Regions from separate parts of the Homo sapiens genome. Here regions 1 and 3 are each linked to region 2. The links are contacts of gene promoters, found by promoter capture Hi-C in blood cells and fetal thymus (Javierre and others, 2016). All regions are on one chromosome and are shown on one strand. The core of a region is centred on a gene start or on the middle of the fragment in contact, and the rest is flanking DNA. Distances in the headings are between cores, read along the strand shown.

The links. The method cuts DNA at HindIII sites, captures the fragments that hold promoters and counts their contacts. A CHiCAGO score of 5 or more calls a contact.
Region 1: a contact is called between the fragment with the promoter of MED8 here and the fragment with the promoter of KDM4A-AS1 in region 2, in 2 of 17 cell types (M2 macrophages and fetal thymus). The highest score is 6.2, in M2 macrophages.
Region 3: a fragment that was not itself captured here is called in contact with the fragment with the promoter of KDM4A-AS1 in region 2 in 1 of 17 cell types (monocytes); the score reaches 6.3 in monocytes.

The regions. Positions count from the first base shown.
Region 1 is chr1:43,387,704-43,392,429 of GRCh38, reverse strand. MED8 (mediator complex subunit 8) reads left to right here and starts at 2,630. Exons shown (of 7, transcript NM_201542.5): 1 at 2,630-2,671; 2 at 4,002-4,120. The coding sequence starts at 2,666. It overlaps SZT2 (SZT2 subunit of KICSTOR complex), which reads right to left and starts at 2,531. Exons shown (of 72, transcript NM_001365999.1): 1 at 2,435-2,531. The coding sequence starts at 2,461. RefSeq lists a silencer at 2,211-2,540 and an enhancer at 3,981-4,120. The HindIII fragment of the contact is 2,691 bases long and covers 19-2,709 here.
Region 2 is chr1:43,705,531-43,709,812 of GRCh38, reverse strand. It overlaps KDM4A-AS1 (KDM4A antisense RNA 1), which reads left to right and starts at 2,472. Exons shown (of 5, transcript NR_033827.1): 1 at 2,472-2,754. It overlaps ST3GAL3 (ST3 beta-galactoside alpha-2,3-sialyltransferase 3), which reads right to left and starts at 2,277. Exons shown (of 12, transcript NM_006279.5): 1 at 2,120-2,277. ST3GAL3-AS1 (ST3GAL3 antisense RNA 1) reads left to right here. Exons shown (of 4, transcript NR_125986.1): 4 at 278-421. RefSeq lists silencers at 1,810-1,859, 1,890-2,389 and enhancers at 2,520-2,599, 2,325-2,842. The HindIII fragment of the contact is 3,706 bases long and covers 1-2,734 here.
Region 3 is chr1:43,990,599-43,994,899 of GRCh38, reverse strand. CCDC24 (coiled-coil domain containing 24) reads right to left here and starts at 3,301. Exons shown (of 9, transcript NM_152499.4): 1 at 3,154-3,301; 2 at 2,896-3,053; 3 at 2,513-2,688; 4 at 2,261-2,377; 5 at 936-1,013. The coding sequence starts at 3,021. B4GALT2 (beta-1,4-galactosyltransferase 2) reads right to left here. Exons shown (of 7, transcript NM_003780.5): 7 at 3,732-4,301. RefSeq lists an enhancer at 1-63 and silencers at 2,848-2,897, 3,038-3,147. The HindIII fragment of the contact is 302 bases long and covers 2,064-2,365 here.

The DNA of each region.
Region 1 (4,726 bases), core at 1,381-3,880, 320 kb after region 2:
AAAAAAAAAAAAAAAGCTTAACTTTTGGCTGAGACTCCCAGGATTGTGTGTCTTGACTTGAAATTACTTTAGATCTGTACTGCTCTATATGGTAAAGACTACTATATGGGGCTACTGAGCACTTACAATGTTGCTAGACCAAGATGGGATGTGCTATCAGTGTAAAATACAACACTAGATTTTAAAGACTTGGTACCAAAAAAAATGTTAAATATCTCACGATGTTTTGTATTTTATTACATTTTGAAAATTTTGGGAGTTTTGGGTTAAATATATAATTACATTTTATTTCATTTGTTTCATTTTTTTTTTTTTTTTTTTTTTTTTTTTTTTTTTTTTTTTTTTTGAGACGGAGTCTCGCTCTGTCGCCCAGGCTGGACTGCAGTGGCACAATCTCAGCTCACTGCAAGCTCCGCCTCCCGGGTTCACGCCATTCTCCTGCCTCAGCCTCCCGAGTAGCTGGGACTACAGGCGCCCGCCACCACGCCCAGCTAATTTTTTGTATTTTTTTTAGTAGAGACAGGGTTTCACCGTTTTAGCCAGGATGGTCTCGATCTCCTGACCTCGTGATCCGCCCGCCTCGGCCTCCCAAAGTGCTGGGATTACAGGCGTGAGCCACCGCGCCCGGCCTTGTTTCATTTTTTTATGTGGCTATCAGAAAATTTAATATTACACATGTGGCTTGCTTTAGATTTCTACAGGACGGTGTTGTCCTAGACTATCTGCCTAAAAGGTATGTTGCATTTCCCCACAACATCCCTCCACCTCCTTTCACTTTAATCTATAATGAAACATCCTCTAAACTGTTTCATAGTTTTTCTTGTGTTAATATTTCTGATTGATCTTGATTGATATTTCTGATGCATGAGCTATTCTACCACCTCTGTGAACATGACTATTTTAAATAAGGCATAGTTTCCTACCACCATATTCAATGTTGGGTCTTACCACACCAAATCCCAGTGAACTGGAGATTTACCATTCTGTGGCTACTTTATTACTTATACCATGAACAATATGGTTAAGAACACAAGGACTGGAGCCTGGCCATCTGTTTTGGAGTCCTGACTCTAATACTTAATAGCTGTGTAACTTTGTTACTTTTTTTTTTTTTTGAGACGGAGTTTCACTCTTGTTGCCCAGGCTGAAGTGCAATGGCATGATCTCAGCTCATCGCAACCTCCACCTCCCGGGTTCAAGCGATTCTCCTGCCTCAGCCTCCCGAGTAGCTGAGATTACAGGCCTGCGCCACCATGCTTGGCTAATTTTGCATTTTCAGTACAGACAGGCTTTCTCCATGTTGGTCAGGCTGGTCTCGAACTCCTCACCTCAGGTGATCTGCCCACCTCGGCCTCCCAGTGTTGGGATTACAGGTGTAAGCCACTGCGCCCGGCTTACTTTGTTACTCTTAATATCTCTGTGCCTCAGTTCCTAAACTAAAAAAAGGAGATGATACAGTGTCCACTTCATAGGGCTGAGGATTAACTGATATTGGTAAAGAGCTTAGAATGGTACTGAGCATGCAGTATGTATGCAGTAATGAATACTATTTCTATCATTATACACATCTCTCACCCTTCCCACCTACTGATATGTTGGCACCTTTCCTGGTGGTGGTGTTTTATCCGAATCTGAGATTTTAAGCTCAGATCTTCTAACTCCAAACTGCTAGTTCCTGGATGAGTGGCATTTGAGTAAGGTACTAAATCTTTCTCATTTTTCAGTTTTCTCCTCTGTGAGAATGCCACCTTCCTTGCACAAGTCTGAATGACACAACATATATAAGGTTCCTTGCATGTTCCTTAGCATTTAACGAATATATCATATCACCTTTCTGGTTTATTACATGTGATTCTCACAACACACTATAAGACAGATATTTTATAAAGAAGGAAACAGGATCCGGGAAGACTCGCCTGAGGTTGCACAGATTAGCTACATGACAGCGCCAATATTGGAACGAGGTCTCAGTCCGACTCAAATGTTTTTTTCATGAAATTAAAGCTGCTTTTCTAAAAGCATGAGCCCTAGAACTAAATAAATTCATGCTGTTTATGGTATTCCAATGCCTAAAGAAATGCAAAAACCAGCAAAGTAAATCTACTGCCGTGTTGCCCATTGAAACTGCAACAGAAAGTCAAAATACAAGTTTTGTTAACACCGCTATAAGTCTTAGAGACGACGACGCGGGTGACATGTCAGTAAACAAAACAAAGCGAACAGTTACTCCTTTAGCTCCCCGAGGAAACTGCGGACCGCGTCCCATACACAGTCCGCAGGGGTACCATAGTCGGGCCTTCCGGGCTGGGCTGGTCCCTGCCGAGGCTACGCAGCCCGGCCACCCCCAGACCTAGAGGAGGCCAACGCCACGCCTGCCCGCCGGACCCTCCCCCTCGGATCTCGGGGCCCAGTGCTGCGCCCGCCCGCCCCTCACCTCCGGCTCCGGGCGCTCCGAGGCCATCACACAGCCCTCCCGCGCCGGCCCGGGCCAGTGAGGGTGTTCCACTCTTGACCCCTGACCTCGCTACCTCGGCACCCAGCAGGAACCGGAAGTTGGTGGGAGGGCCGAGTTCCAGTTTTCTGATTGGTGGACGAAGCCTTCTCGTAGGCGTTTGCTGACTGGAAAACCGGAAGTGAAATCGTGGCAGCCGCCTCGGCCGCCGCAATGCAGGTGAGAGTTGCGTTGGGCGTACTAGCGGCTGGCAAGCTTCGGGTACAGGGACCGAGAGTGGGCTGGCTAAGGAGAATGAAGAGTTGGGACTGAGAAGAGAGGGCAGAACCCACGGCTGATAAGGGAATGTGGGCTGGGGGGCGAGGCTAATTGGAGCGGGAGCGGCGGCGATTAGAGGTGGGGGTGGAGCTTGCCTGACAGGAGACAGTCGGGCTAAATCCGGAGGGAGGAGGCAGCACCTGTTTGCTTGGCGTGGGAAAGGATTAGGTTGTAATACGGGGAGGCTGAGATGCAGTCCAAGGAAGACGGCTCAAGAAGGTGGTGGGTTGGCTCAGGCCCTGTCCTAAGCTGCTGGATGGAGGCTGTTGGTTGCCGATATAGCAGGGGATCTAATTGGAAAGAAGCCCAAGCAGTGAGGGAATTGTGGGCCGCGATGGCTGAAAGCTAAGCAGCTTATAATCAGAGGCCATGGTGGAACCCGGGATCAAGTTTCTGTCAGGCAGGTTTGCAAGACAGTTTTGCATCCCTCTTCCCAGCCTGTGCCCTATAGTTGTTAAGGGTGAAGAAATGGAGTAAAACAGGAGACCACCGATGGGAAGGAAATGCTTTGCAGACCCCCAGCATTTTAATTTGTTTGTCCAGTGCTTAGAAGCATGTGTGGTTTTTGTTTTTCATTTGTCACTTAGTTTCTTGCAGCTGGTAGTCTCAATAAATGTTAATGGGTTGACTGAGCTTGTGAAAGAGGCACGGGAATATTGACACAGAGATAGATGATTGCATATTAATTCAGCAAGGAGAAGGTTGAAACAAAATGATGAGAGCAGATGGAAAGCTGGAGTCGTTGGTTGGGGGAGGGAAAGGGGAGAGCAGGACTGGTGTTCAGAGAAGTCTTCATGAGTAGGCAGATTTCCCAGAGACTGACAAGACAGCCAGGCTCACAGATGCTAGGATGGAGGAAGCTGGAGTGCATGTGCTACAGAGGTGCACATGAGAGAATGATCTCCTGGCATTAGGTCTGTCGAAAATGTCTCAGTGAGGGAGTGTAGGGTGTACCTAACACAGAGAAAAACCAGGCATAGATTAGGAGGTGATGGGGAAAAGGAATCAGTTGGTGGAAGGACTTGGGGTCAGGCAAACAGGTTGGAAGGTCTCAGGGTTGATGCTGTCTATAACCCAAATACCAAAGATAGAAAACAACCTGGCTATCCTATGCCAATGAGATCCTGTGTTACCTGACTGGTGTTGCACACCATCTCCTTGGCTTTCCAGCCCTCCTTTCTATGTGTCATACTCGTTTATCTGGGTGACCAACCTGTTCCTATTGGTGCAGAGAGAGGAGAAGCAGCTTGAGGCATCATTAGATGCACTGCTGAGTCAAGTGGCTGATCTGAAGAACTCTCTGGGGAGTTTCATTTGCAAGTTGGAGAACGAGTATGGCCGGCTGACCTGGTAAGAGTTACCAGGGCAAGCTAGGAAGGGCTTATGGGTGGGGGGGCCTAGCCTCCTGATGAATAGGACATTTCTAATGATGTAACCATTTATCAGTTTGCAAACATCTTTTGATTTGGAAAGAGCTGGGTTTCCTAACATTTAGCAAGTGGATTCCATGGCAAGGAAGTAGAGAAATGCTCAGTTTCCTAACCCAAGTTCTTTCTAGCTTTCAATTCTTACCCTTTGACTTCTCTGGTGAGGAGGTCCTCCCACTACAGCTCTATTCGTGCTGGATCTCTTGCCACAGATGTGGCTGAGTCTTTTAGAGCCAACCTACTCTGAAGTGTGGATCTTATTTCCAGGCTGGAAAGGAGGCTTTTACCCGGTTTCTGAAGTTTTAGTTATAACAGTGTAGCCCTGGTTCCTATTTTGCCACTGTTCCTCACCCCATTCAAACAATGAACTGGGTTTTTTCTACGTCTGTTTCATAAACTGAAACTATGTCCCTCTTTCATAGCCCTGTCATCCCTGTTAGTCTGTTCCCACTTAGGCTAGTCATAGGGCTATGAGACTTTTGGAGGTGAATCCAAGTGTTCCTAGCCTGAAGGAACTAGGACTATTTTA
Region 2 (4,282 bases), core at 1,223-3,722:
TGCACTGGCGCGATCTCGGCTCATTGCAACCTCCACCTCCCGGGTTCAAGCGATTCTCCTGCCTCAGCCTCCCGAGCAGCTGGGATTACAGGCGCCTGCCACCACGCCTGGCTAATTTTTTGTATTTTTTTTTTGGTAGAGACGGGGTTTCATCATGTTGGCTAGGCTGGTCTCGAACTCAAGGTGGGAAGATTTCTTGAGCCCAGGAGTTCAAGAACAGCCTGGGCAACATGACAAGACCCTGTCTCTACAAAAAAAATTTTTTTTAATTCTCCAGGTCACCTGCCTGTGGTCCCAGCTACTTGGGAAGCTGAGGTGGGAGGATCGCCTGAGTCCAGAAAGTCAAGGCTGCAGAGAGCCACATTCACTGCACTCCAGCATGGGTGACAGAGGGAGACCCTGTCTCAAAAAAAAAAGAAAAAAGAAAAAGTGACAATGACAAGTAAAGTGTTACTGTATTCCTGATAGTTAGCTACAGCTTCCTTTGAAGTAAATTCTATTACTTGTTTACTCTTTGCACCACACAGGACAAAGGTACCTCTTGGATTAATGCCATCAACCTACCTTTTGTGCAACCTCATATCCTGCTTTTTCTGCTAAGAAACCCCCTGGAACCACCCATGAGCATCTCAGGTTCCCCTGCACCTTTGTCATCCTCACTTTCTCATCTGCTCACTTCTTCCCCTTCATACAGCCGGCTACCCACTCTTCATGACCCAATTCAAGCCTCAGCTTCCCTGTGAAACCTTCCTCAAACACATGGATTTCTCCTTTTCTCGGTTTCTCAGAGTACCTACCATCTTGGAATTCTAGAGACCATATCACAGTTATCATTGTCATGTGTGTGCTTTATTCCCTCAAGTATATTATAGGCCCATTAGAGCAAGTTTCTTATCTTAAATGGTTTTGAGTTTCCCCTCAGTCAATGCCTTGCATAAAATATGTACTCAAGAGGCGTTCCATTGATTGATACAAAGTCTGTTAGTCTCTGAGAACATGAATGTCTTGTTTCATCGTTAACATTTTATTTTTATTAAACCATGGTTAGACAGTTAGACACGCGAAATGGAGAGATTCACCACTTAATATCTCAAAATATCCTTAAGAATCTCTAATCATAGGAGGAGCTGTATTGCCTTAAGAGATTATTTGAAAGTATCATTTGGCTATAAATTTCTGTGCCAGCTTCCTTTTAATCCTCTGTTGACTTGAAAGTACACCAAACATTTCAGTGATCATCTCTACAAGATAATTCTGCCTTAGAAACAACCTAATTTGTCATGGGGACTATCTTACTTTTAGTAACCTAATAAGAGTTTTTTCCTACCTTAATGTCCAGCTATCTATAATTCACAGTACATCCACTGAAAAGTTTGAGTATTTTACTTTCTGAGGTAATAGCCGCCTTCACTGGTCCTTCCCTCAATTAATTACATTCAGTTATCAGGTTTCACTCCTTCCTCATACGTGAAGGAAACATAAATGAGGCTTACTGAGGAATCATAAAAATGGACATTGTTGTAAAAAGGAATCCAAAATGTTCATGGGACACTCTCCTAACCAAACCTGCCCTCCTCACTAAGATATTTTCTCTTGCAAGCAAAAGCACCGAGGACACAACGGGGGAAAGTGCCAGAAGGAAAGGAAGCAAGAGAGGCGTACTTTGCCGATCAAACTGACCCCAGTTCTGGCCCCCGCTAGAGCAGTAAGCAATGACAACCGCTACCCAAACGCTGCCGATTCCCGCTCAGGCGCTCCCTGGACTTTTCTTTCCTTTTCCCACAGCAGGGCCCGAATGACGGTGTCCGTGCTCTGCGCCAAGGTGCGCAGCGCTGCGGGGTTTCACACGGAGATGATCTCAGACCTCCTGGCCTGCGTCCGGCCGGCCTTTCCCCCAGGCTCGGCGGCCCCCACCCAGGAGAGGTCATCCAGGTACTGGGCCCCCAGCCCGAAGGACGACTGGGCCGTGCCCCGACCCCGCCTTCCCGGGCACTAGCGCGCGGGCTCCGCGCCCCGCCCAGCCCGGGACCCGCGGCCGGCGGGGGAGGGGCGGGGCGGAGCGGCGACCGTTATTCGCGGTCAGCCATCGCGCCCCGAAGCGCACTGGGCAGGCCCTTACCACAGCGGAGAGGGAGGCAGGGGGGAGGTGGCGCCCGGCCCGACGCGGGGCAGGAAGGCGGAGGCAGCGGCGTAGGCGGCGGCGACAGCCGCGGGGGACCCCGGCGGGAGCCCACAACGCGCTGGGCTGCATGGGCGCCGCCATAGTGGGGACGCAGCGGCGGGCGGAGCGCGCGGCCGCGACCCGGTCGGGCGCCTGCGACCAATGGGCTCGCGGAAGCCGGGCGGAGCGAGGGCCTGGCCAATGCGGAGCTGCGCTGCCCCGAGCAGCCCAATAGACGCAGGAGCCGCGGATTTGCCGTCCCGCCCACCCCGCCTACCACGAGAGCAGTGCTGCGGCGAGTGCGGGGCGAGAGGTTCGCGCTGGTGGAGCACCCCAGCTTGCAGGTTCAGCGTGGGTGTCTCTCCCGGGCACATCGAGCTGTCTAGAGGAACCCTCTTCCCCTGGCTTCACGGCCCAGAGGACGCACGGCTCTCTCCCCTCGAGAGCGTGTTTCGTCGCCCGCGCGGGGAACGCAAAGTGCTAGGGTAGTCACGGCCACTTCACGCCGAGGGACATCTCATCTCGCCCTCCAGGTCGTGAGCGCACCCATTCCGCTCACTGAGGCCGAAAGCTTCGGACCTCCGTGGGCCCTGGTGGGTAAGGGGGCACGGGGGTGAGCGTTAAGAGACTCGTAGAACATTTTTAGTCCGCGCGTGGCACAAGGCCTCCAAGCCCCACGTACACTTTGCAGCCCTCCCACTCCTTTTTCATTCCTGCGGCTGAGCCCTGGTGTTATCCGCCTGGGGCGGAATTTAAAACTTAATTCCTCAACAAAGTCGGGGTGGTCTTTAAACTGCAACCTTGGATCCAAAGGCCCTACCTTACAAAGGGAAGGCAGTTTGCCCTACAAAAAGGCTTCTGGGAGGAGCTGCCTAAGGCAGGAAGGGACTGGCAGGCCGGGAGGTGCCGCTTTTGGCTGGGGCCAGTTCTCTTGAGGTCGACCCGACTGCATAGGCAGCCAGTAGGGGAGAGAACGGGCCGGTCTGTGTGATTTGGATCACCTGAGTTGCAGTTTCCTAAGAGTTATTAGGTTGACCAAAAAAAAAAAGTGCAGTTTCTGGAAAACTGGTCAGCTGTTGAGTAAAAACTGCTGGGATTAAACCCAGCGCCCACCCCTGGAGGCAGTGGGGTCATCGAGAAAGGTAGGGATCCTGTGTAAAAAGGCTGGTGAAGTGTTCCTCTCTTCCAAAGATGTATGGATTAGTGTTCTCTCACCAATCCACTAAGGCCTGGTTCTGCCCAGCCTCCCTTGCTACATCCCCTGGGAATCCCCAAGTGGAGTGTGGGCAAAGAAAAAAAAAGGCCAACTTCCCTCCCTGGGCCCCAGGAGGGAGCTGACATAGAAAAGATCACCTCCTGCACCTCCCTTTCTCCACAATGAGATACCAAGTAGCAACCACCTCTCAACCCCCAGGGACACAAGGAAGCATCCAGAGCAGCTGAACTGACCTAAGCCTCTCCTGCACCTGGACAGGGCCATGCCACAGGAAGTGCCTGGCTGTTTAAGGGCCAGCCGGTGCAGCTCCGGGGCACCCAAGTCCTGCACCTATTCATTGCCCCCCTCCCTGCTCTGTGGTTCCCCATCCTTGTCCACTTTGACCTCAGGGATCTACCAGCCAAAGGAGATTGGGTCTTCCTCCAGGGAAGCTTCTCACCAACTAGACAGCTCGGAGAGCAATCTGAGGATCCCACTGGAGGTTGAGTCCCTTGCTTTTCAAGCACCTAAAATGCACCCATCCTTCCCACTGGTTCCACAATTTGTATAGAGCACAGATGCTGGCATGAACTTAGGCCAGTTCAACAAAGATGTATCAAATGGGGCAGCAGTGAGAGATACTCTGTTGAGAGGACTCATTGGTCTGGTGCTTCCTCTGTTACCTCATCTTGCCCGTCTCTAAGGCAGAGCAAGCACAACAAAGAGGTGCTCAGAGCCAGAAGTGTCCCTGCTCCCATGACCCACCATACTTGGCCTAATACAGAGCTTGACAAGCAAAGGACCCACTCTCTGGAACTTCCTAGGGAATGCCTTACTGATTTGTCTTAAAATACACAGCCCCGCTCCAGAGCCTATGACTCTAGATACACCCCCCAGCCTGACGTGGGCCACGTGGGCTCCTTGGG
Region 3 (4,301 bases), core at 965-3,464, 290 kb before region 2:
TCGCCTGCCTCACCCTGGCAGGCATCCTTCTCTCTCCCACACTTCTGCACTGTGATTCTTCTTGCCTCCATCTTCCCCCACATCACAGCCCTTCCGCTGCTTAAAATCCTCTGACACAGGCTACCCCTGTGTCAAGGTATTTATTTTTGAAACAGGGTCGGCCAGGCGAGGTGGCTCATGCCTGTAATCCCAGCACTTTGGGAGGCTGAGATGGGCGGATCATGAGATCAAGAGATCGAGACCATCCTGGCTAACACAGTGAAACCCCGCCTCTACTAAAAATACAAAAAAATTAGCTGGGCATGGTGGTGGGCATCTGTAGTCCCAGCTACTCGGGAGGCTTAGGCAGGAGAATGGTGTGAACCCGGGAGGTGGAGCTTGCAGTGAGCCAAGATCACGCCACTGCACTCCAGCCTGGGCGCCAGAACAAGACTCCATCTCAAAAAAAAAAAAAAAAGAAAGAAAGAAAGAAAGAAACAGGGTCTTGCTCTGCCACCCATCATGACTCACTGTAGCCTTACCTTCCAGGGCTCAATCAATCCCTTCTCACCTCAGCCTCCCAAGTAACTGGTACAGGCGTGCACCACCACGCCCAGCTAATTTTTGTATTTGTTTTGGTAGAGATGGGGTTTTCCCATGTTGGCCAAGCTGGTTTCGAATTCCTGGGCCCAAATGACCCTCTTGCCTCGGCCTCCCAAATTGCTGGGATTATAGGCATGCACCATCATGCTCGGCCGTGGCATCTGTACTTGGCTGCTTCCTGAAAGCAACCTCACTAGCTCTATAGCAGCCAGCTCTTTCCACCTCTCAGCCTTACGCACATGGGCCTCCCCGCCAAGTATACTACCCACCTCCTGTCTCACAATCCCAGCACCTCAAGATCCATCCTTGTCTCCACCCCTGCCTATACACATGCAGGTGCCCCTGGGCCTCACCTCAGGTGTCTGGCCACCTGGTCAATGTTGGACACGTTCAGTTGGTCCTTGATGATGCTGAGATCTCTGTGACCGCTGCTGGCAATGAAGTCACTATCACTCTCCGCATGTTGCTCACCCCAGGCCTTCAGGACCCAAATATCACTTCTAGGCAACTGTTTCTTTTCTCACAAAGGCAATATAATATAGTGCAAAGAGTAAGAGTTTGGGAGCCTAGGTTTGCAAATGAGCTCTGCCACCCTTCATTGTGTGTGACTTCAGGCAAATCACTTATCGCTTCTGAGCTTTAGTTTCTTTTCCTTTTTTTTTTTTTTTTTTGAGACAAGATTGTGCTCTGTTGCCCAGGCTGGAGTGCAGTAGCACCATCTTGGCTCACTGCAGCCTTGACATCCCGGGCTCAAGTGCTCTTCCCACATCAGCCTCCTGAGTAGCTGGGACTACAGGTGCGTGCCACCACGCCTGTTCAATTTTTTTGCACAGATGGGGTCTCACTATGTTGCCCAGGCTTCTTTTTTTTTTTTCTTAGAGACAGGGTCTTTGTCACCCAGGTTGGAGTGCACAGGTGCAATCATAGCTCACTGCAGCCCCGAATTCCTGAGCTCAAGCAATTATCCCACCTCAGCCTCCCAAGTAGCTGGGAATACAGGCATGCGCCACCTCACCTGACTATTTTTTTTTTCACTTTTTGTAAAGATGGGGTCTCCCTGTATTGCCCAGGCTGATCTCAAACTCCTGGCCTCAAGCCATCCTCCCGCCTCAGCCTCCCAAAGTGCTGGGATTACAGGCATGAGCCACTATGCCCGGCCTTTAATTTCCTCTTGTGCAAAATGGAGATTTTGCCCACCTCCTCAGGCTGTGTGAGGATTAGAATAAGAAGTTGCTGCCATCCACTTATGAATATTTTATCTCATTCAGTCCCAGCTGTAAATACCATTTGTGACCATCCTCTTCAGCTCTCCCTGCCTCCCTAGCCCAGCCCTCACTCCTGTTCTCTAGGCCAGAGGAACAACCGCCTGCTGGACATGGCTTCCTTTCTTCCCTCTTCCTACAAAGCTCTTCTCTTTCATCTCCCTGAAAACTGCTCCTCATACTACAACACGCAGATCAAACCACTTTCTCCAGGAAGCTTTGCCTGTCCCCAGGCTAGGCAGGTGTTTCCTCTGGGTTTCAGTAGCCCTCATGGGCTGATAATCTCTATCACAAGTGGCGGTGGAAGTGCCCAGCCCGTGACTGGAATCTCCTGCATGGAGCCAGGTGCAACCCACCAGTGGGCTAGGGCCCTCTGCCAAGCAGGGACAGATCCCTCTCTCCTACCATCACCTTACCTGGGCCCACCACCTCTCATCTGGAATATCTCCTGTTCTGGCAAATCACACCTGGGCTCCTCCAAGGCAAAGTGCAGGACCCTGGGGCTATACTGGACCCAAGCTTGGGCCTGGTCCCTGCAGAAGGTGCACAGGAAGGAAGCTGAGAGGCTCCTTTCTGGAAACCACAGAAAAGGCAACCCTGGCTCCTTGTTAGGGGCAGCGCTAGCCCACCTGGTATCTAGGGAAAGGGCCCAGGCCTGAGGCTCCCACCTGCCCTCACAGATGGCTTTGTGGCGGAGACCCTGGAGCAACTGCCGGAGCTCCTGGCGCAAGAGGTCCTTTAGGAGAGGCGGTGGTGCCAGAAGAGAAGAGGGGTCAGAGATGGGGCGGGAGCTGGGGGCTTGAGAGGATCGAGCCTCTTGGAGCAGTGCCCGTAACATCGCCACCTGCAAGGAGAGCTGGGATACCTTGCGACTGGGGAGGGGAGTGTCCGGAATGGTGGGGGCTGGGGGAGTGAGGGAGAGGGCGGAGTCAAAGGGGAGACCAGGATAGGATCTCGGGAGTTACCCGGCAGGGCCAGGGACCCGCAGAGGTGGGAAATCACCCGAGTCGTGGGGCAGGCCAGGGGCGTGGCCCACCTTCCCTCTCCCCACCTCCGCCCGCAGCTCCAGGCTCAGGTCCACCGCCGCCTCCCCCAGAATCCTCTTCACTTCGCGTCGCTCCCGGAGCGGAACGTGCTCCTCCACCAGCTCCCACAGCGAGGGGGAGTGCCGGAGCATGACCCACCGACGCCGCCGTCCCCGGCTCGGACCTACGGGCCGCAGGTCAGAGTGCGGGAGGTACCGCGGGCCCGCCGGCAACGCTCACCAAACCCCGCCCCTCTATGGGCCCCGCCCTCTCCCAAGCCCCACCCGTGCTCTGCCGCTGGTCCCCTCGGCTGGGATTGCCCGTTCCGGAACTGCCAGTCCTTGGCGCTCTCTTCTGCCCGGCTTTTGGCCGACTCGGATGCCGGGGGCCCAGAAACCAGGCAGTGGGAACCAGGGCCCTAGCCCCACCTCTTCCGCGTGGCCATCACCCGGGAAACCACGCCGCGACTCTAGGGCCCCGCCCCCTCCCGTGTTTGGTCCGGCGGGCGGCGCGTGCCGGCTGGGAGTTCAGACTCACCTCGGCGCTCCACCGAGCCCTGACCCAAGCACTTTGGGCTCGGCCCTGGGCACCTTTAGGCCTCAGGGAACGTGTTAAGACCTGAGAAATCTGGGTCCACGGGTTTATTACTTCGTCGCCTCCACTGTCCCGGAAGCAGTGCAAGGACAAACTTCCCCTTAAGGCCAGTGAAAGCCTAGGGAGTGGCAGCGCTTGGAGAACCAGGATGGCCCGGGTCAGGTTTACTTGTTGGGCCAGGTTCCCCAAGTGCCCTTCCACCACAACACACTCAGGGTAACCACGTTCAGGGACCCGACCCCCACCCCCAAACAGACAAGGGAGCTGCTCCATTCACGTTTTTTACTAAAGCACCCACACAAGTTTCTGTGCAATGTACAAACACAAGCCGGCCCTGGGGCTCCTGCCTCCTCTCTCAGACAGGGAGGCGGGAACCAGACTTACTGATCCAAGCCCCACCTGCCTCCCATGCAAAGGCCAACCCCAAGATCCCAGGCAGCGACACAGCATCCCCTCTGGTCCCCTCCTGGGGCTGCTCCTCAGCAGGGGGCGCACCAAAGCTTGCCCCCTACAATGTTGAATGAAAAAGGTTTCCCCTCCCCTGGGAGCAAGGGGGTTCCCAAGAGCTGAGAATTCCCCCTGGAAGAGACACTGCCCCCTAGACATACCTCCCACCCTTCCAGGCCCTAGGGGACTCAAGGGGGGGAAACTGAGGCACAGAGAGGTGGAGTGACCTAGCCCAGGCCACTCTGCGAGGCAGTGCAGGGGCTGGCCCGACCCTGACAGTGACTGGGGCTGGGCTAGGGGGAGGGGGTCGGGAAGGAGGGTTGACTCCAAAGAGGGCCACACTTGAAGAGCCTGCCCAGGCAGGAGGCCCCCCAAAGTGGGTTCTGAAACT